Regions from separate parts of the Homo sapiens genome. Here all the other regions are linked to region 3. The links are contacts of gene promoters, found by promoter capture Hi-C in blood cells and fetal thymus (Javierre and others, 2016). All regions are on one chromosome and are shown on one strand. Each heading gives the region's core, a stretch centred on a gene start or on the middle of the fragment in contact. The rest is flanking DNA. Distances are from core to core; before and after follow the strand shown.

Region 1 (5,149 bases), core at 1,674-4,173, 2.6 Mb before region 3:
TTATTCCTACATGTTTAAGTACATTAAGTAATGATTTTAAGAGAAATTCTTGAAAATATGAGCATATCCAAAGAAGTCCCAGGACAGTCTTTCTTTATGTAGTAGAAACCACTTAATCCCCCTTGTAAATGATACCTTTACTTAGCAATCAGAGTATAAGAAGATATTTATATTTGTCTCGAATATTACAGTTTCAAGCCATTTTCTCATATGTATGGGCTTTGAAAAAAAAAAAACAACTTTCATTTACGTTACTTTTGTATATGAATACCAATTATTAGCAGTAAAACTTTTAACTACTTCAAAGGCTATGCTTTTCGTGAACTGAGTTTTCTTTCTTACGCATTTTCTATTTCTCCTTGTCATCTGTCTCTCTACCTCCAGAACCAGCAGTTTGTGAACTGCATTAGACTGTTATATCGTTATAAAAGGATACAATTCGTGAGTCTTCTGATTATTTTCTTCTTAGCACTGAAGCTTTATAAACATTGCTATAAAACATTAACACCATTAATGAAAGGAAAGAGATTTTAAAATATTTTTTCATGTAGGTGAAGATTTTGGGAAAAGAAAGGGTTTTATGTTACTTTAAACAGCCTGATATGGATGATAATACTTAGATATGATAATAATTATACATTACCATATACAAAGGACTTTTAATCATCCTCGTAATTGCAAAAAAGGGATAGATATTATGTCCTTTTCCAAACATAGATACTAAGGCTTAAGTCTATACCTTCTTAGACACAGTTTACTTATAGTGCCATGTATGTGAAAGTGAACTGTAATGTTTTCAAAAGTGAAATAATTTACCTCTGGAATATTTGCTATAATTTTTAATTCTCCTTTCAGGAAATGCAGGTAATTCTTTATTCATTCACAAATAGTTGAGTGTCCACTGTGTTCTGAACATTATGTTAAACAATGTAAACATAAAAAATTAATAAACTCTTTCCATTCCTCATTTATAATCTAAATTATTGATTACAAAAATCACTTTATAATTTGTGTAACAGAGGCCTGAACCAAGTATTATAAAAGCTAAGGATAACAAGTAATTGACTTACTGGTATAGCAGGGGGGAAAAGCGTGAAATTTGAAGTAAGAGACACCAAGTTAAAAGTGTCAGCGCATGTACTCACTTTATTACCTTGAGTAAATTGGACAATCTCTGAACCTCCATTTTCCTACCTGTAAAATGGATATAAAACTAATACCTACTTCATGAAGTACTGTGAGGATTATCATAGTAAAATACTGCATAACTATTTGCAGCTGTAGTCGTGAGTCACTTAGCAATGGAATAAATTCTGAGAAATGCTTTGTTAGGCAGTTTCAGCATTGCACGAATACAGACTCTACCTACATGAACCTAGATGATATGTGTGTGTGTGTGTGTGTATATTTTTTTCTTCATATAGAGAACCAAATGTCCCTGCACATTATTGGGTATCATTTATTTCTCCTACTTGATCTGCAGTGCTAATATCAAATGACCTATATCAGGTTCTATATATGCTCTGCTATCATCTTACGGGACCAATAGGCAGTCCATCCTTGACCAAAACATTCTTATGCAGTGCAATTGCGTTGGCATTGTTTTTAAAATTTTTAATTTTTTAAAATTATTTCCTCTTCCTATACTTTTGGCTTTTCCAGATGTCATATAAACAGAAATATAAAATATATAGCCATTTGTGTCTGGCTTATTTCACTTAGCATAATGATTTTGAGATTTATTCATATTGTTAGGTCTATTTATAGTTTGTTCCTTATCAATCCTTAATAGTATTCCAGTATGTGGATCTACTGTAATTTGTTTATCCATTCACCAGTTGATGAACATTTGTTTTCAGGTTTTGGCTGATATGAATAAAACTTCTAAAAACATACACTTACAGGTTTTTAGGTGTACATATTTTCTTTTGGGTTAGTATCTAAGATTGGTATTGCTGGACCATATGGTAAATTGATGTTTAACTTTATAAGAAATTGCCAAACTGTTTTCCAACATGTTTACATCATTTTCTATTATCACCAGTAAGAGCATCCTTGGTAGTACCTAGCATTGTTAGGTTTTGTTTTATTTTTGTTGTTGTTAGTGTGTAGTCATATCTTATGGTAGTTTTAGTTTACATTTTTTATTATCTATTGATGTTGAGCATTTTTTCATGTGTTTATTTGCTAATCATATCTCTTTAGTGAAGTGTATTTCCAGGTTTTAAATTGGGTTGTTTGCTTTCTTGTTAAGCTTCGAGAGTTCTTTATAAATTCTAGAAAAAGTTATTTATCATATGTATGTATTGCAGATATTTTATCCCAGTGTTATTTCTCTTTTTTTAGCAGTTCTTTAAGGAATAAAAATTTTAATTTTTTCTTTATGCATAGCTGCTTTTTCTTTGCTGTCTGGGAAGCCATTACCCAACCTGAGCTCACAAAGATTTTTGTTGTTGTCTTCGAGAAGTTGTATAGTTTTAAGTTGTACATTTAGATCTGTGAGCCATCATGAATTAATTTTTACATATCATTTGAGGTATGAGTTGAGGTTCATCTTTTTTCAAAGGATGTTTAATTGTTACAGCATTTGTTGAAAAGATTATCCTTTCTTCATTGAATTACCTTGGCACCTTTGTTGAAAATCAGTTTACTATAACTGAGTGGCTATTTCTGTCACTATTCTGTTCGATAGATTTAAGGCTGTCATTTTGCCATTATAACACAGTCTTGATTACCATAGTAGTATAGAAAGTCCTGAAACCAAATAATGTGAAATTCTTCAACTATATTCATTTCTCAAAGTTGTTGTAATTATTCTGAGTCCTTTAGCTTTCCATATCAATTTTAGAATCAGCCTGTCAGTTTCTGCAAAAGAGCTTGAGGGTTCCTGATTGGGACTGCATTGAATCTATAGATCAATTTGGAGAAAATTGGCATTTTGTCCCACTTTTTCTCAGAGGTAGAGTGGGAGTTACTCCAGCTTTCTGCATTCTAGTCAGAAGCCTATATGGGAATGTTTAGTGGCATTTCAGAAAGAAATAATTTTCTTCCATGGTTATATTCACTATAATATCTTTATTGGAAGAGATCACAGGACGAATCCCTCTATTTGTGAATTGGATGTCATCCCCTGCTGCCATCTCAGGACATCATACCATAAGTTTTTTCTCCTTTGTTTTCAGTGGTCTTTCTAGAAGCCCTTCCATTAGCATTAAACTTTTTGGGTTACTCCCTTGTCGAAAGCAAAACAATCTTGTTCAAAAAAAAAATTGTTTTAATTGTAGTAAATCACACATAACATGAAATTTACCATCTTAACCATTTTTAAGTGTGCAGTTCAGTGGCTTTAAGTACATTCACATTTGTTTTACAACTATTACCACCATCCATCCCAAGAACTCTTTTCATTTTGTGTAACTGAAACTCTTGACCAGTTAAATAATAACTCTTACATTCTCTCCTCCTCACCCCCTGTTCTATGCAACCATCATTATTCTTTCTGTCTGTATGTATTTGACTACTCTGACTACCTCATATAGGTGGAATCTTACAGTATTTATCTTTTTGTGACAGGTTCATTTCACTAAGCTTAATGTCCTCAAGATTCATCCATGTGGTAACGTGTGTTAGAATCTCCTTCCCTTTAAAGGTGTGTGAATATATACACCGTATTTTGTTTATCCATTCAGCCATTGATGGACACTTGAGTTGCTTCCATCATTTGGCTGTTGTGGGTGATGTGGCTATGAACATGACTGTCAAAACTTTTAACCCCACTAGAATGTAAACTCAATGAAGGTCAAGAGAATCTACATCTTGTTTATTATCCTGTCTCCAACGTTGTAACTGGCACATAGCAGTTACTCAGTCACATTTTTTAGATCAATGAATGAACCTTATATCTGTCTCTAGCAACTATCTTGTAGCTCCTTGCCTTTATAGCTAAGCCCAAGTTTCTAAATCCACTTTCTGAATTTCCATTCATTCCTTGTGTCATTTCAGTCTGGTTGCCAACTGCCCTGCTATACTGTAACTATACTGTATACTGTTGCCAAAACCACTAGCTACATTATGGTTCTTATATCACTTAGCCTCTCTGTGTACTTCTAAGAAGTCTGTATTTCCCAGACTTCTATTACCAGAACCTCTTCTGGCTTTTTTCCTGTTTCTCTGGCTAGTCTCATGTCCCTAAAGATTTACAATATATTTGGGAGAGAGACATATAAACTAATATATTCAATAGAGTGTTTCAGATTTTATGATAAAGGTTGACACATATTACTGTGAATGTACCAATGAGGGTGTGCACAATTCTCCCTGAGATTGGGGATGTGGTCAGAAAGGATTCATGGATGAATGAACTCATTAATGTGAACGTTGAAAGATAAGGATATGTTCACTGCACTTCCTACTGTGTACACTTTCCATCTGATCCTTCTTCCATTGCCTTAACTTCACCTACTTTTTACATGCCGAGTTCATCCATGAAGAATAGAACCTGCTTAATATTGTCATCTTTCTCCCTAAGCCAGAGCTTCAGACAGAAGTGATCCCAGATTCTTCTTTGTGTTTACTCCACACATCTAGTCAGTTACAGTTCTTATATAATGTATCTATCCATTTATACTGACACTGCTTTGGCTCAGAATTTCCTCATTTCTTGCTTTAATTATACAGTAGCTTCCTAGCTGACTGGTACAGGTATTCCTGTCTCTACCCCAATCTCTATTCCATATTGGTGCACAATACACTTTATAGAATAGAAATCTAATCTTGTAACTCCAACTCATTCTTAAAATTTTAAGTTATTCCAGGTTGGAGTGGTTAGAAGACACTCTGCAGGAAATTACACCTAGCCAGAGTTTTGAAATATGATGAGGGGCTGGAGAAATAGCAATAAAAGTTCATTCCAGGCAAAAATATCAATGAAAAGGTGTGAGCACACTGCATGGGATGGTTGAAGAACTGTGGTTATGTTTTGAATTGAGAATGCCAAGAGAAAAAGATGGAGAGATTGATAAAAACCATATCTTATAAAGCCTTGTATACTGGCAGAGGTATTTAGATATCATTAGTGCCATGGTCTTAATGGTTGTATTCTCCCAAAATTCATATGTTGAAATCCTAACCACCAAGGTGATGGTATTAA
Region 2 (5,013 bases), core at 1,346-3,845, 2.7 Mb before region 3:
AGATTTGGTGGCACATCGTGGAAAGTCTTATACAAAATCCTTCTGAATCATGGACTCTTTCTCCTATGAGCTTCTATTTTCTAAAATCATAAATTATGCGACAGAAAAAAAGGTATCAACCAATACCGTCTGGTTATATGGTTGGATATCAAATACAGTTATATATTTCCGCTTTATTTCTCAAGACTACATCTATCACAAAGTGGGATAGATTTCATTTATACTTTTATAAATGTCAATTTAAAACAAGCAGGAGGAACATTAGAAATATCTGAATGTCTTAATCCTAAAGAATAGTTTTGACAGTCTTAAATCTCATTCAAACTTTCATATAATTTGCCTCATGTATTTGGTGACATATTCTTCTTTTTAAGCTTTTAAATGCATTAGAAAAATATTTACACTTTCAAAGAGTTTCTTTTTCAACATCAAAAGAAAGAAATCAACTAAAACTTTAGTCTGGATTTGAAAGCAGAGGAGCCTTGAAGACATTACCCAACTCTTGCACTGGAGCTGATGTGTAAATCTAGGAAATGATCGGTAATTTCATAGTAAACAAAGAGTAGTAACTGATTATTCCTATTATGCCAGTGCCAAGCCAAAAATAGAATATAAACACAATGTCCAAGGGAGCAACACAAGAAAACCAAGGTGCAGAAGCTCCATTACATTCTCACTTTTTCTAATTTTGACTCTGCTTCCTGCTTTGTGGGAGGAGGAGGAAGAGCAGGAGGAGGAGGAGGAAGAGCAGGAGGAGGAGGAGGAGGAGGAGGAGGTATATGGTGAAAAAGAGGGAAAAATAAATAAAAAGAACAAGACCAGAAACTAACTAGTATAAGATTATACGTTTTCTTTAAGACATAACCCATAAAGAAATCTACTACAAAATTACAGTAAGGGTTCTACCCCCATCTCCCACTTATAACAATTAAAAGATTGTAATATAAAAATTCCCAAAACATGTACCTTTCAAATAACACACATTTTTAGAATACTTTAAAAATCTATAATTCTCTAACGCTTGCAACTGATTTTGGCCAATGTTCTAAACACTGAAGGCTTGGAAAGATATCAACAGATTTCCTCTCCAAAACAGTCAGCAAGAGGAAAAGGAATCCATGTGAAATTCTTAGAAGATAGACTAAATGCTGCATAAAAACAAAGACTGAAGTAAATAGAGCAAAGGCTACAAGATATAATAAATGCTTCCAGTTATAAGAAGCTGAAACAGAATGCAGTGGGACATTATCCCATAAGCAATAAAAATAGGAAAAAACCAAGCAGTGGCCAAGAGCTGCCCACAGACTTCTGGATAAGAAAGTCATGGGTGACTAAGCAAAAGACACCCAACATTTCACTGCAAGTGGAGCTTCTACAAATAGAAAAGTTTGCAAACATTAACTACCAAATGTATCGAATTTCTCAGGTGATAGTTATTATCACAGGTAAATAAGAATGCCTTTCAAAAGAAGAGTGACTATATATCTCAATTCATAGTCAATACCCTGGCATAATTATTGAAAGCAACCCCCTTTAACTCTCAAAAGTGTCTCAGTTTGGCTGTTTCATTTGTTATCCTACTCAAAAGCAACATGGAAAGGCAATGACTTTTTTAAAAAGGGAAACACCCTTCTGCTTGAACGGTGAATTCCCATACAGGTCTGAGTTCTTTCTTCGGGTGTACCCACTTAGATATTCACTTATTCAGTCATTCAACAATGTTTCTTAAGTCTTATTATATATCCCCACACTATGCAGGCACTGGTGCACATATAAAGAGATGGCCTGAGACTGGGTCAGAGGGGAGGGCAGACATGGAAATAAATCCTTCTAATAACAGTAAACCTGAATGGCACTAGGAACCCAAAAAAGGGAGTGCCTTTCCCAAAAATATACAAAGCTCCATTTGGAAATGTTTATGTCCATACAAAATTCGTAAACACACAAAAAAGTCGTGAATCTCAAGCTTCAGCACAGATCACTAACAAAACAGCAGTAAGAAAAAATTTAACAACATTGATCACAAATCATAAGACTATAAATATGAGGACCAGCACATAGCCCTTTCAAATATTGGTAAATAAAAATCACATTCATCATTAAAGTTTATATTATGAAAGGACAAATTTTAGGCAGAGAAATTGGTACAGTAGAAGCTGTGAGTTCTAATTCTAGCTATCAAAACATTTATTTTCATTTTTTTCATGGCCCTAACCTGAAGCCCACCAAAACATTTTCAAGAAAGAAAAGAAAGAAAGAAAGAAAGAAAGGAAGAAAGAAAGAAAGAAAGAAAGAAAGAAAGAAAGAAAGAAAGAAAGAAAGAAAGAAAGAAAGAAAAAGAAAAACAGGTAGTATTTTCAGAGTGGCTATTTAAGAAGAGACCACTAATGGAAAAGCACTTGGAAAAAAAACATCAATTTTTAAAAATTCTTTCAAAATAGTGAAAATATTTTGTAACCACTAATCTCAAAGACCACTAAAAACAAGTAAAAGATGAACCAAAACATCTCTGGAGGAATACTAACTGAACACTAAGCAGAAATAAAATGGCTTAACTGTCAAAGTACAACACAACAATGAAAACAAAATGTTTAGCTGCACCTAGATGCTCATCTTAGAGGCTTCTTTCAAATATTCTTACTTTACCATTTGCAACTTGCAAAAAGTAAGTCATCAATACTCTTTAAGAAGAGTTAACTAGGGTGTGACTTTTCTGAAACCATCCTTGACCTTACAAACAAACCATTAACCTTGCCAACTTTGTAAGATAACCCATAATTCGTTCAGTAAGACAAAAATGTGTTTCTCTTTCTAGTATCAGTTCTTTTAATAGCAATCCACCCCCTTAAAGTGCAGCACTCATTATCTTTCCATTTCTGCTAGTAAAAATTAAACCTAGGTTACTAATATCTTCTTATCACGTGGTGTCATCCTTCTACTTTTAGAAAAATACTCAGTTTCACTGCAAATATGACCGACAGTAAGTGGAACTAAAGGTCAACATGCAGCCTTTACAAGAAATTTGTCTCTTAGGAAGTATCATCAAAATGGAACAGGTGTACACTGTGGAATTGGCTAATCTTTGGGAAGGCTTAAAACCAGGTACTCATTTTGATAGGCTGGTGACAAAATCAAAGTTCTCTCTGGAGGAAAGGAGCTGATCCCCCACCTCACCCCCAGCTACAAATCAGCAAAGAAATTTTAAACCCTGTACATAAAGCTTTATTACTCTAACCATATTAAGTACTTTTGAGTTAATTTTATAATAGCTCTCTAAAATACACAGAAATATACAAAGAAAATAAGCAAATTCATTGACTGTTATATAATATCAATAAATATATCTTATACACTGAAATAATTACTAACACTTTCATTTGCAATTAAATAAACTGTTAGCAAAAGCATATTCTATACATCAATTATTATCAAATTAACAGGTCTCTGTATTCATTAACTCTTATATTCCATCCTGTTCATTTTACTTTTCAGTTTATAATGCATTCACAGTTACATAATTAAAACACTGAGGATTCTGTGACACATTCATTAAACTTAATAGTGTAATCATAAATCGCGGCCAAAAGCTTCTGCCGTAATAACCAATACTATATTTTGAAATGACTGGGAAAATAAACTTTGCAAAAGGGTCATTTCTACCTCTATAGTGTCAATCCAGCATTACAGGATTTGAGAAAATAAAACAACTAACAACCCTAAATTGTAGGTTGGCTCTTCGGAAAAAAAAAAAAAAGGAAAATGAGTCTAGTAACATCAGAAATATGCAAGAATTGTTCTTTCAGCTAGGAGCGGCAAGCACACTGTAAAATGCCTCCATTCTTCCTGCTCAAATAAAAAGTTCCCAGCTCCAGCTTTACCTGTGCACCACACACACACAAACACACACACACACACACACACACACGGAAATCTTGGTTCCACCCAAATCAGTAACCCACTGGGTTGAAAACTGAGGTGGAAGGAGAGGCAGGGAGTCCCTAAGCGTGTGGAACACTAGCAAGGGGAAAAGGACGGGGCCATCATTCCCTTCGCGTTCCCATCTCCTTTCTGGCGGAGACCTGCAGATTCCACCACTAGAGAGAGTTTGGCAGCTTCACAATGGGGCCGCGTTGCTGGAGGTCTGACTGCCACCCGCCTCGAAACCCCTCTCCTCCGCTTCCCACCTGCCCCAAAGTCCACCCGCGACAGGTGGGGCGAGGGTGGCAATGCCCGACATCTGCCGCTTAAGCTTCTGGCTCGGACCGGGCCCCAATCCACACGCGCACACACGGCCACAGCCGGCCAGTCCACCCCCACTGCACCGGCAGACACTCGGAGGGCGCGGGCGGCCTCGCACGCGGGTTGCAACCAGGACGAGGAGGGTCGGCGAGATCAGACCGCCGGGGCTCGCCCTGAGGTGCTATCTGACCCGGGCAGTCGCACCCTGAGCGCGGCCGGGCACGCAGCCAAAGGTGCCGCCGGCCGGGGAAAGCTACTTCTCAAAGGGGCCTCCAGGCCCGCTGCCCCGCGGTGCGGGAACAGCGGCCAAGGGAGGGAGCGAGCGAGCGTGCGCGCCAACGCGCCCCGACTTCCGCACCGCGGCACCGCGGGAGAGGCGCTCCGGGTCGCCGAGTCCCCGCACCTCCCCAGCGAGCGCACGACGCGCGCACACGGGGGCGCACGCCCCCGCACACTCACACGCGCTGCACACTCACGGCGTCTGCGGCCCCACCCCTGTGCCAGGGAACCGCAAGCTCCCCGCACCCCGCGCGGGCCCCACCCAGTTTACCAGACCCCAGTCCCCTTCGGGTGCCTGGGAACCGGTCCACCAAGGCCAAGGGACGCTGGGGCCGCCCCGCCGCCCATCGCAGAAGCTGGTCCGGCCGGGTTTCCCCAGCACCGCGGGCATCGTGCGCCCGGCCCAGACACGAGGCGGAGAGGAAGGGGCGGCGCCGCGATTAGGGCTGGCACTGGGGATCGGAGCCTGGGGCAAACCCACTCCCCCAAGCCCCC
Region 3 (5,518 bases), core at 517-3,016:
TAATAGCCTTTTTATATATGAGTGGTTATTCCTTTATGATACTACTACACCAAAACTTGACAAGCAGTTTCTTAAAGATTAGTTGCAATGTGGAATCTGAAACAATATCAATGAACTACTTGTACCCTATAAGCCTGTAACAGAATGTATTATTTTGAAAATAGTTTTAATACTGTAGATGCCCTGAAGAGGTCTAAGTGAAACTCCCACCTGTGTGGTTCCCTGGCCCACATGTCAAGAACCACTGGCTTACACTATTTTTTAACTAGCCAAGTGATGTTGGTTTTCCATTCATGATAATAACGACTTGTTTAAAAGGAAACTTTTGCTTTAAATAATCAGTTTAAAGAAATATGTTAAATTACAATACAGAGGGTATTTATGGGAAAAACGTGAATTTTGAAAACAATAAACAAACATAAGCTGCAAACCTACCCTCTACACTTATTTTATAATGAAATAAACTGCTAGACAGCTTTCCCTCACCTTATCTCTTTGCTGGCTTCTCCTAATGGTGAGGTCTTGGCTCTGTATGTCAACTCTTCAGGAAGGTGATTCTCTGCCACTTAGGTGGCAGATTAAAGGGCAATACTAGGAAACACTGATAGTAAGGAAGAACTTTTCTTCTCCTGAATTTTATAAAAATAAAATATCCATAAGGCACCTCTATATTACTATTAATCCACTCAAATATATATTGATTTCCTATTAAGTGGCAGCATTGTACAAATAATTTGTAAGACTCACAAACCTACTAAATAGATATCCTGTCTTTAAAGAGTTTGCATTCTGATTGGCAAAATTTTGACCAGTTAGGTATACAAAAATTTAGACTAGAAAGGTAGAAGTATTACAAGACAGAGTAGTCAAAATTCTAGGGAATAAAGATTATCCTCACTTCAGAGAAAGGGTGCCCTTTGAGGCTGACGTGGGTTGTAGGTCAGATGAAGAGATTTGGAGGTAGGGCACTCATTTATAAACAAAAGGCAGCAATTAGTTATAGGTTTAAATTGCTCCAAAGGTAACAGGCCTTTAAGAAAGTCAATATCATATTCTTAAGCAGGAGTCCCTGATGCTGGGGAAGGGGGAAAGGGTCACAGAAGTCAGCCTTGCTGGAGATCACCGGCCTGCGTATCTCAGGCCCACGGGGGTGCCCCACCGAGGCTTTGCCTCACCTGACCGTCCTGACCACGAAGTACACCAGCACCGCGCCGCTCACCACCATCAACACGGTCAGGGCCCGCTGGGTCATGGGCTTGTCGCCAGGGTTGGGGCTCACAGCAAGGCCGCCACCCACCGAGCCTTCCCCGGCCTTCCCTCCGTGATCGTCCGTCTCAAGCCCGGCCACAGGGTTGCTGCCATTGCCTCCCTCGGAGCCCCGCGGCCCCGCAGCTTCAGCCAGACCACGGCCCGGCTGCTGGGCAGGGGTAGGGCCCGGTGGCAGCGGCGGTAATGTCCGTGGTCTAGGGTCAGGAGGCCCAAGACCTGGCGCGGCCTCGGCTGCCTGCAGCAGGACTGCCAGGGGCCCGCTTAGTTCAGGCAGCAACAGCAGGAGGAGGACGGAAGCCAAGAGGTGGCTGAGACAGCAGCAGCACTGCGAGGCCTTCATCGTTCCCGGACCGCTCTCTCACCACCCGGGAGCCGCCAGGCCCGCCACGCTGGCTCCAAGAGGGACCATAGGCGCGGTGGAGAATGAAGCAGAGGTGACCAAACGCCAGGGAGAGGCCCGGTCGTGGCAGGTGGCAGAAGCTACAGCAGTGGCAGCTGCCCGGAGAACCGGAAGTTCGTACATCTCAGCGGCCACTGCTGCTAAGGACGCCTTCGGTTGCTAACTTGTAGGGGCGGATGCACTTGGTGACGTCAGAGGCCTAGCGCCCAGTGCGCACGCGCACTTGTGTAAAAAGCGAGGACGTGACCGTTTTGGAAGCATTGTTCTTTTCACTGTTAGTGAGGAGCGGTCAAGGATGCGTATTAAGAAAGTAAGTAGACAAAAAGAGATTGTGTAAAATGTACAGCAACTCTCTCATGCAGGAACCCTGAGAGATTGGAAACTCATAATCTGAATTCATTGGTGTCAAACTGCAATAACACATTTAATCTGTAAGCCAGAAGGGCTTAGTTTTCCTTAGCTTCATTACAAGCTTTAAGCAGGCTTTTTTTCCTGCCTATGGGTCCCTGACCTCCCTTTCTAAAGAGCATTTGCTTGTAATGAGTTCATGTCCTTTGTAGGCACATGGATGAAGCTGGAAACCATCATTCTGAGCAAACTATTAGAAGGACAGAAAACCAAACACTGCATGTTCTCACTCATAGGTGGGAATTGAACAATGAGAACACTTGGACACGGGATGGGGAACATCACACACCGGGGCCTGTCGTGGGGTAGGGGGGAGGGATAGCATTAGGGGATATACCTAATGTAAATGACGAGTTAATGGGTGCAGCACAGCAACATGGCACATGTATACATATGTAACAAACCTGCACGTTGTGCACATATACCCTAGAACTTAAAGTATATTAAAAAAAATTACTTTAGAAAACTTTACCATTGTAAGTTATTTCTCTTCCCTTTTCAGATGTAAATATTTTTTAAAGCTTCTGGCCAGTTATATAATTGAAAACTATCTCAAGGGTATGGAAAGCCATCATGCCTTTGAAATATAATCAGCAAGGAAGGTAGTGGGCCATCTCTTATTTTGTGTGAGAGGAAAGGAACCTAACTGTTGTAGGCTTCTCGCTTCAAGTTGTAAAACCACCTCCTGTCATGGAGGAGAAAATTTACTTTTCCTTTGGGTAAAGTCAATCAGCAAACTCAGGTGGCCGGTGATCTTCCCAAAATAGCTCTTAATAACTCTCCACTCCTTTTTTTCTTTTAGAGGAGTTGAGATTAGAAGAGTTTTATCCCCTTTCCCAACAGCAGTAGTCTTCAATAATGTCTTCCTTGCCTGTTTGACTTCAGTAATATGGAACTTCAATTTGTGCAGATAACTAGAAGTGGCCGCATGATGTACCTCTCACCAATGAGATGCCTGTCAAGGGTATACGTGGGTCTTTTGAGTAAGTTATTGTTTTCATTGCTAAAAGAGAGACAGATACAGGTAGATATATACAGAGAGAGAGCCAGAAACACACACACATGCATACACACACCTACCTCTCTCATTATTCCTTTCCCCCTTTCACTTGCCTGCCCTCTCTGCACAGAAAGTTCTGGCCCTAACCTTGAAAAGAATATGACCCAGCTAGTCCTCTGATCCTAGTAGACTGTGGGATATCTGGCGTAAACTATGACTAAACCTATAGCCTGGCACCAAATGCAGCCAAGGTTAGCTTAAGTTAGTCAACCCCAGCTTGACCAAAGAAGTGAAAAATAAATGCTTATTTGCTGTATGCCACTGATATTTCTATGGTTATTGATTATGCCACATTATTCTAGCAATAGTTGATTAAGAAGCTAGAATCAAATCATGGTATTAATTAGGAGAATATAATAATGTGGCAGTAACCTGATACAAATTTCTCATTCTGAGATTTTTTCCCCTTATTTATGTATTTTTTTTTTATATCCTGTGCTTGGTACAACTTGTTTGCAAGCCAATTGATAACAAGTAAATGAACAAGTATATTAAAATTAAGAGAAAAATTCATAAACAACTAATTTTACTTAGTTTGAAAGATTGTATTTCACATAGATATTTGTGCTCAAAATTGTAACTTTCTATTGCACAAACAAAACACAGTATCTTCTCCTAGGAAAATTTTTGTTCATTCCCATGACAGATTTCAAGATGTCATTATATAATGATGTTTTACAAACAATATGGTATTCTAAAAAGAGCACAGTAACTTCCAGGTATGTTGCCTGCTTAAGATCACTTTTGTTGAGAATTGAGTATCTCTGAAAAATCTGATTTTGTTTTTGTTGTTGTTGTTTAGTTAGTTGGTTGCTATATCAGGAGAGATCTGTACTTAAAAAGTTTATCCTGGCAGTAATATAGCCATTTTAAGTGAAGGTAGAAAGTGCTGGGCACCAAGCAGGTTAGTATATAGTCCTAGGGCTATAGAGGCCTGTAGGATTGGATTAATGGGAAAAAAGTTAGGGAAATGGACAGGATATGACAATATCTGGATGCAGGTAGTAAGGGAAAGGAAAGAGATTCTTAAATTTCAGTGTACATGAAAATCACTCTGAGAGCTTGTTAAAAATGCATATATAGTCCATGTCTCCACTTCCAAAAATTCTGTCCAGAATTTCTAAAATAGTGATCTAGAATCTCCAATTTTAACAAATTCCCTTTCTTATTCTGTTTTGGGTAATTGAGAGCTGCATTTTGAGAAACATTAGAACATAGCTTTCCTAATCATTTGGAAACAATAGTTTGATTCTAAGATTTCAGAATCATTTAGCTCTTTGCATGTCCCAGTTATTGCCAAGGACTGCTGCAGATGGGAATTTGGGGTAACAAATGATACCAAGGTTTTATGCCTGCACATCTGGGAGAATGATAATGCCATTAATCAAGATGAAGAACATGACAAAATCAGATTTTGGAAGGAAGGAAAGATAATGCACATTTTCTTTTTTGTCATTCCTTTTTTTTTTTTTGACAAGTTGAATGTTGGACTTTTTTGGGAGGAGGCATTAAATACTAACTCTATTCTATTTTTTGGGAGAGGCATTAAATACTAACTCTATTCCATTTATAATGTGGAATGAAGTTCTGAGTAAGGAAGATGGGAAATCAAAAGGGCATTTTATTACTGATAAATGCCATTTGGAAGCTGACACTAGGGTGTACCACAAATGGGCTTCTTTACACTGAAACTCAACATTAAGATGCCTAATCCTTGCAGTTCTGCCAGCCAGAAGCAACTGCCTTACCCTGCTCCCTGAAAGCAGCTAAGAGACAAACTATCCTGTCCACTCTACCTAAAACAGCAGTTTACAAAATTTGTAGTATAGATCTTGTATGTTTCATTTATAACACACACTTAAGATTCCAAAATTAGTGTGATTATTTTTACCACTTGAACCTAAGTTCTATGAAGCAAGGGTCAATCTCATTTATTCACTACTCAATACTCAGAATTTAGCACAGTGCTAAAAAAGAGTATATCAAAAAAGACAAAGGTGGGCATTACATGATGGTGAAGAGTTTAACAGGAAGAGCTAACTATGCTAAATATATAAGCACCCAATACAGGAGGAGCTAGATTCACAAAGCAAGTTCTTAGAGACCTACATAGAGACTTAGAATCCCACACAATAGTAGTGGGAGAATTTAACACCCCATTGACAATATTAGACAGATCATCAAGACGTAAAATTAACAAAGATATTAAGGACCTGAACTCAGCTCTGAATCAAGTGGACCTGATAGATATCTACAGAGTTCTCCATCCCAAAACAACAGAGCATAACATTCTTCTCATTGCCACATGACACTTACTCTAAAATTGATCAAATAATCAGAAGTAAAACACTCCTCAGCAAATGCAAAGGAACTTAAATCAT
Region 4 (5,525 bases), core at 1,093-3,592, 2.6 Mb before region 3:
ATCACAAGGTCAGGAGATCGAGACCATCCTGGCTAACACGGTGAAACCCTGTCTCTACTAAAAATACAAAAAATTAGCTGGGCGTGGTGGCGGGCGCCTGTAATCCCAGCTACTCGGGAGGCTGAGGCAGGAGAATGGCGGGAACCCGGGAGGGGGAGCTTGCAGTGAGCTGAGATCCCGCCACTGCACTCCAGACTGGGCGACAGAGCCAGACTCCATCTCAAAAAAAAAAAAAAAAATCTAGTTATAATGAGTAAAGTCCTAATTTCATCATCAGTCCCATGACAGAAAAAGTGCTCATAAGTTTGAATGGTTTAGTAGGCTCTGGAAATTAAACAATCTCGGTTAAGTCTTTGTCCTACTACGTGGGGAACTTGTGACTTTGGGTAGATTAATCAATCTTCCTAATTATCAAGATTCCTCATCTGTAAAATTAGGTAATAAATAACTATTTCTGAGTATTATTTTGAAAGTACAATGAATTAATAATGCAAAAACACCTGATGCCATGTCAGTGTACAGTAGGTACTAAATTAATGTTATTTTTCCTTCCCTTAATTCAGCCAACTTCACCACTCACCTATCTTGTATGAGATACTGCATATTCAAGTCATTGATTACAAATGGATTCCTGAGTTTTGCATAGGCAACCGCTTTGTCCAGTGGAAATCCTAAGAACACATATTATTAACATATTCTGTATTATCTCAAGATAAGCATCTATACTTTATTAACTTGAATTGATGCCACCTCCCATAAAAGATTCATTTCATTAACACATAACACCCTTCTATAAAAGGTATGGAATATATACATAAACCTTGATTTAACTTATATATTAAATCTTATTTTTTCATAATTTGATTAAGGCACAACAAACCAGTGGTTATATAACCAAATTTGGAGCACTGACATGTGAGTGAAGGTCTGACTAGTCAGTCACCTGAAATAAGGTAAGATTCACCTCATACACAAAGAGAAATCTATATGTAAATAACATGGGTGTATCAGAATCACCTGGTGATTTTTAAAAAATGTATTCAACATCTCTTCTTTTCACTTAGATATTTTGATGCCTACACACATAAATTAGCTGATATTCAAAGACTTATGTGCCTTTAAAAACAGTGGGCCAGGCATGGGGGCACACGCCTATAATCCCAGCACTTTGGGAGGCCGAGGCAGGTGGATCACCTGAGGTCAGGAGTTCGAGACCAGCCTGGCCAACAGGGTGAAACCCCATCTCTACTAAAATTACAAAAAATTAGCCAGGTGTGGTGGCGCACACCTGTAATCCCAGATACTTAGGAGGCTGAAGCAGGAGAATCACTCAAATCCAGGAGGTGGAGGTTGCGGTGAGTGGAGATCGTGCCATTGTACTCCAGCCTGGGCAACAGAGCAAGACTCCATCTCAAAAAAAAAAAAAAAAAAAAAGCTACAGAAGCAAAACTTAATTCATATATGACATATATGCTCAAAATATATGAGCAGAATCATGCTATTGCTAGGTCAACATTAAAATATTAGAAATTAAGTCCCTAAAACTTGTAGACTGGTAAAAGTACTAATTACAATGAAAACAAATCAAATAGTAGATATAGTGAAGAACAGGTCCCCTCCCCCAAAATCTAAAAAATTTTAATGATTGTATTTTATTCTCTATATTGGCACTAATGCCAGGTGCAGTGGCTCTTGCCTGTCCCAGTACTTTGGGAGGCCGAGTTGGGAGGAGTGCTTGATGCCAGGAATTCAACACCAGCCTGGGCAACATAGCAAGATCCCATCTCTACAAAAAATTCAAAAGAATCAGCTGAGGGTAGTGGTGCAACCTGTAGTTCTATCCTTCAGGAGGCTGAGGTGGGAGGATCACTTGAGCCCAAGAGTTTGAGGTTACAGGGAGCTATGACTATACCACTGCACTCCAGCCTAGTTGACACAGCAAGACCCTGTCCTCCAGGGGGAAAAAAAAAATTGACACAAAGTCTCCAATTTTATCCATCAATACACATCATCAGTTGTATACCGTAACAGTTAAAGACATAAACCAGCGTTCAAATCCTGGTTCCATCTCTCACTAGCTATGTGACCTTGGGCAAATTTATTTAACGTCTCTAAGCCTCTGGTACCAGCACAAAAGAGTAGTATACCAGTCTTACCTAGTAGAGTTTTGAGGAATTAATAATAGTGTGGATATAAGGCACTAAGCACAGTACCTGGCATAGTAAGTGCTCAATAAATGTTACCTGTTATTATTCCTTAAGAGGCAATATTTTAATAAATATCTATGGAAAAGGATAAAAATCAGCAAGCATACATAACTTTAGTATTCAACTATGGAATACTAAGTATACCTGTGAAGAGACTATATTTTATAGTACTACCAGAATAGTTAAGAGAAAAAGTATTAAAACATGCTGAAATTAAAACAAAAAGCTGTGGCCAGTTAAATCAGATTTATTCCTAAACTCCTCTTAGTTTTTAAAATTTAAATACAGATACCTTATATCAAGAACCACTTAGCCACAAATTACAAATCCTGAAAGTTTTATAAAGACTCTCAGAATTCATCGCTTGTAAAGATGTCTCAATGTCTATGATTTGAAGCCTCCTTACAGAATTCAGCAAATAGAAAACACCTACACAGTTTCCTGCTTTTGTTTTTGTTAAAGAGAAACTTTTTCCCTACCAAGAGATGGTATGTGGAATATGACATTAGCTATAACACCCAGTTTTTACAGGCAAATATAACACTAATAGGAAGAACCATGTGAGGGTAAGGGAAGAATGCTTTACTCTCAAGGAGGAAGAAATTTTAAGGTTCTCTAAAATGAGCAGCCTGAGTCTTTGAAGATCAGTGTCTTGACTTCTCTATGAAATAATGAACATCAATTTAGGCTATGGTAGCAAAACCATGCTCCATCTTCTTCTTGCTGAAGTAAGACTTTAACATAGCTCAGGAGAACATATTTTGGTAACAAGTGATGATTAAATATGAATACATTTACAACTGAGAGCACATCTTTTCAATTAATAGTTCTTAGTGGGAAATTCACTTAATTCACAGATTCTTAGGCTATCAATTTTCAGATGTACCCTCAGCAATAATTTTGATTAGTGGAATTTACAATGACATAATACTTAAGCTGAAGTGATATTTCAGTTTGATTAATAAGATATAGCAAGGAATGTCTAAAAATCTCAAATTATTAAGTTCTTAAAAATAAAGTATGAATATGTATATGAAAAATGATAGATCTTGTTCTATAAAGCATAGAAAGGGGCTTAAAGTATTCAATAATTCAAGAACTTGTCCTAAGAAACTTAGAGATGCAAACAAAAATATGCAGTGAAAAAGATCACACAACCTTATTTTTAATAGTGAAAACTGGAAACTTTCCAAATGTTAGGATATTGGATAAATTTAAATATGTTATGGTATATCCACACAATGATATACTATGCCACCATTAAAAACCACATTATCTAAGAATGACATGGTAGGGGAAAAAAACTTCTTGATATAATAGTGAAAAAGGTTAAATATAAAATTACACATACACTATGACACTAAATTAAATGATAATACACATAGAAGACAAACACTGGAAAGAAATATATCACAATGTTAATATTACCTGTCCATGAAAGTGAGTTAATGTTTATTTTTCTGTTTTATCTCATAGTCTACAATTAATATGTATTAGTTTTATAAACAGAGAGGATAAAGGAGTTTCTCCCCCACTCCCCTTAATACCTTTAGAATGGAAAGAAATAAGACAATCACATAAAGGCCAGTTTTCCACTGGTTCATTCAAAATAACCTCCTCTTCAAATACTACTACTGTGATATATTTAAATAAGGAGATCCGTTCAAGAATTTCCTTCATTGGTTTGGATTTGGATTTCTTTGCCATGGAACATATTCCAACCACAATCTGCCTTTCTGGTGGCTAAAACAAAAATGAAACAAAAAATCGGGTTAACTTTACATGAACTCCAAAGTACAGCTATCTTCATTTGTTTTCCAAAAGTAGATAAGGCATGTGATTAATAAATAAAAGTGACACATTAACAAACAAAGGAATTTTTAAAAATTATATCATTGTTATAATAAACATTTAAAAAACAGTTTTCTACAAAAGTCTGGAAACAAATTTAAAAACAAAAACACTTTCAGAATAAATATGGTTGCTATTTTCAATGAAATTTCAAACTAAGAAAGTACCCCCTCTTTAACTACCTCTAGCATTTATTTATCCTCCTCACACCAGTAAAGTATAATAACAGTCAAAACCCATCCACTCTATGTAGAAAGATAAAGAATTCTCTTGCCTAAAGTAAGACATAGTCCTGACTACAAAGCTATAAGTATTAAACTATTATTGTAGTTTGCACTTGAATATTAGTTGGTCACTGATGACAACTTGGAAGAAAATTTTAAAGAAAGCCACACTGCTAACAGAGGTGTCAAGTCTCTTTGCCCCTCCTGTCTTCATAGTCAAAACTCCTACTCATTGGTGTTACTGATCTCTGGCATCCTCGTAACAGCTCAAAGGCCACAATTCAGCCTAAAACTTAAAAAGCAGGATATAGAAACTGATTTATGAGTAGCTCCTAGATTTATAAAATTACTCAAGATTCATTTGGTGATCTTTGCATTTAAGTGCTTGAGAGTTTTATCAAATATACAAAAGCTGTGTTGAGGTTCTCATTTCAATTTTTCTTTCTTGCATGATACTTTATATATTTCATACAACATTATAATCTAGGCTTGAAAGTGCTTTTCTGGGCTTTTTCTTAATATAACTAAAAATAAAATTGGATAACATCAGAATTAATTAATTAATTTTTTTTTTTGAGACAAAGTCTCGCTCTGTCGCCCAGGCTGGAGTGCAGTGGCGCAATCTCAGCTCACTGCAACCTCCGCCTCCCGGGTTCAAGCAATTCTCCTGCCTCAGCCTCCCAAGTAGCTGGGACTACAGGCATGCACCACCACACCCAGCTAATTTTTTTTTTCGTATTTTTAGTAGAGATGGGGTTTCATCGTGTTAGCCAGGATGGTCTCGATCTCCTGACCTCATGATCTGTCTGCTTCGGCCTCCCAAAGTGCTGGGATTACAGGCGTGAGCTACCACGCCCAGCCTAAATTGTTCTTTTTTTATGCCTAGAACAGTATTTCTGTATTGTCTCCTCAAACTCATGAAATGTAGAGTTCAAATTGTACTAGAGTTGATTGGTAAATCAAATAGATTATAAATGCTAACTCTCCTGGAATCTTCTGTATTTATCCCTCTGAACATCCACTTTTATATGCCCTTATTCAATGCTTTCCTGATCAAAAGTTTTGGTACAGTTCATTATAATGTTCCTAAAGTAGATTTCCCCAGACAACAAATGTACTCTAACCTAACATTTCACATTGCTTTACAATTTTTTTAAATGCTAATATATTGTCTTATTTATTATAAATCTATTTAATGAATATCTGCTCACTGGCTAAGATGAATGGGAACCATTCAAGTTTA

What was found. The method cuts DNA at HindIII sites, captures the fragments that hold promoters and counts their contacts. A CHiCAGO score of 5 or more calls a contact.
Region 1: a fragment that was not itself captured here is called in contact with the fragment with the promoter of FAM174A in region 3 in 3 of 17 cell types (naive CD4 T cells, non-activated CD4 T cells and total CD4 T cells); the score reaches 6.6 in naive CD4 T cells.
Region 2: a contact is called between a fragment that was not itself captured here and the fragment with the promoter of FAM174A in region 3, in 2 of 17 cell types (non-activated CD4 T cells and total CD8 T cells). The highest score is 8.3, in non-activated CD4 T cells.
Region 4: a contact is called between a fragment that was not itself captured here and the fragment with the promoter of FAM174A in region 3, in 2 of 17 cell types (non-activated CD4 T cells and total CD8 T cells). The highest score is 6.8, in non-activated CD4 T cells.

Annotation. Positions count from the first base shown.
Region 1 is chr5:103,113,837-103,118,985 of GRCh38, reverse strand. The region is part of intron 1 of GIN1 (gypsy retrotransposon integrase 1); the gene reads left to right. Among named protein-coding and RNA genes, the nearest start is that of GIN1, 3.7 kb to the left of the region's middle. The HindIII fragment of the contact is 1,334 bases long and covers 2,257-3,590 here.
Region 2 is chr5:103,258,963-103,263,975 of GRCh38, reverse strand. The region is part of intron 1 of MACIR (macrophage immunometabolism regulator); the gene reads right to left. Among named protein-coding and RNA genes, the nearest start is that of MACIR, 2.7 kb to the right of the region's middle. RefSeq lists a silencer at 4,453-4,832. The HindIII fragment of the contact is 1,254 bases long and covers 1,969-3,222 here.
Region 3 is chr5:100,531,622-100,537,139 of GRCh38, reverse strand. It overlaps FAM174A (family with sequence similarity 174 member A), which reads right to left and starts at 1,766. Exons shown (of 3, transcript NM_198507.3): 1 at 1,176-1,766. The coding sequence starts at 1,609. FAM174A-DT (FAM174A divergent transcript) reads left to right here and starts at 1,897. Exons shown (of 5, transcript NR_172939.1): 1 at 1,897-1,979; 2 at 2,988-3,060. RefSeq lists an enhancer at 1,508-1,807. The HindIII fragment of the contact is 3,135 bases long and covers 1-2,143 here.
Region 4 is chr5:103,131,878-103,137,402 of GRCh38, reverse strand. It overlaps PPIP5K2 (diphosphoinositol pentakisphosphate kinase 2), which reads right to left. Exons shown (of 31, transcript NM_001276277.3): 3 at 3,755-3,950; 4 at 581-671. Among named protein-coding and RNA genes, the nearest start is that of PPIP5K2, 14 kb to the right of the region's middle. The HindIII fragment of the contact is 6,863 bases long and covers 1-5,525 here.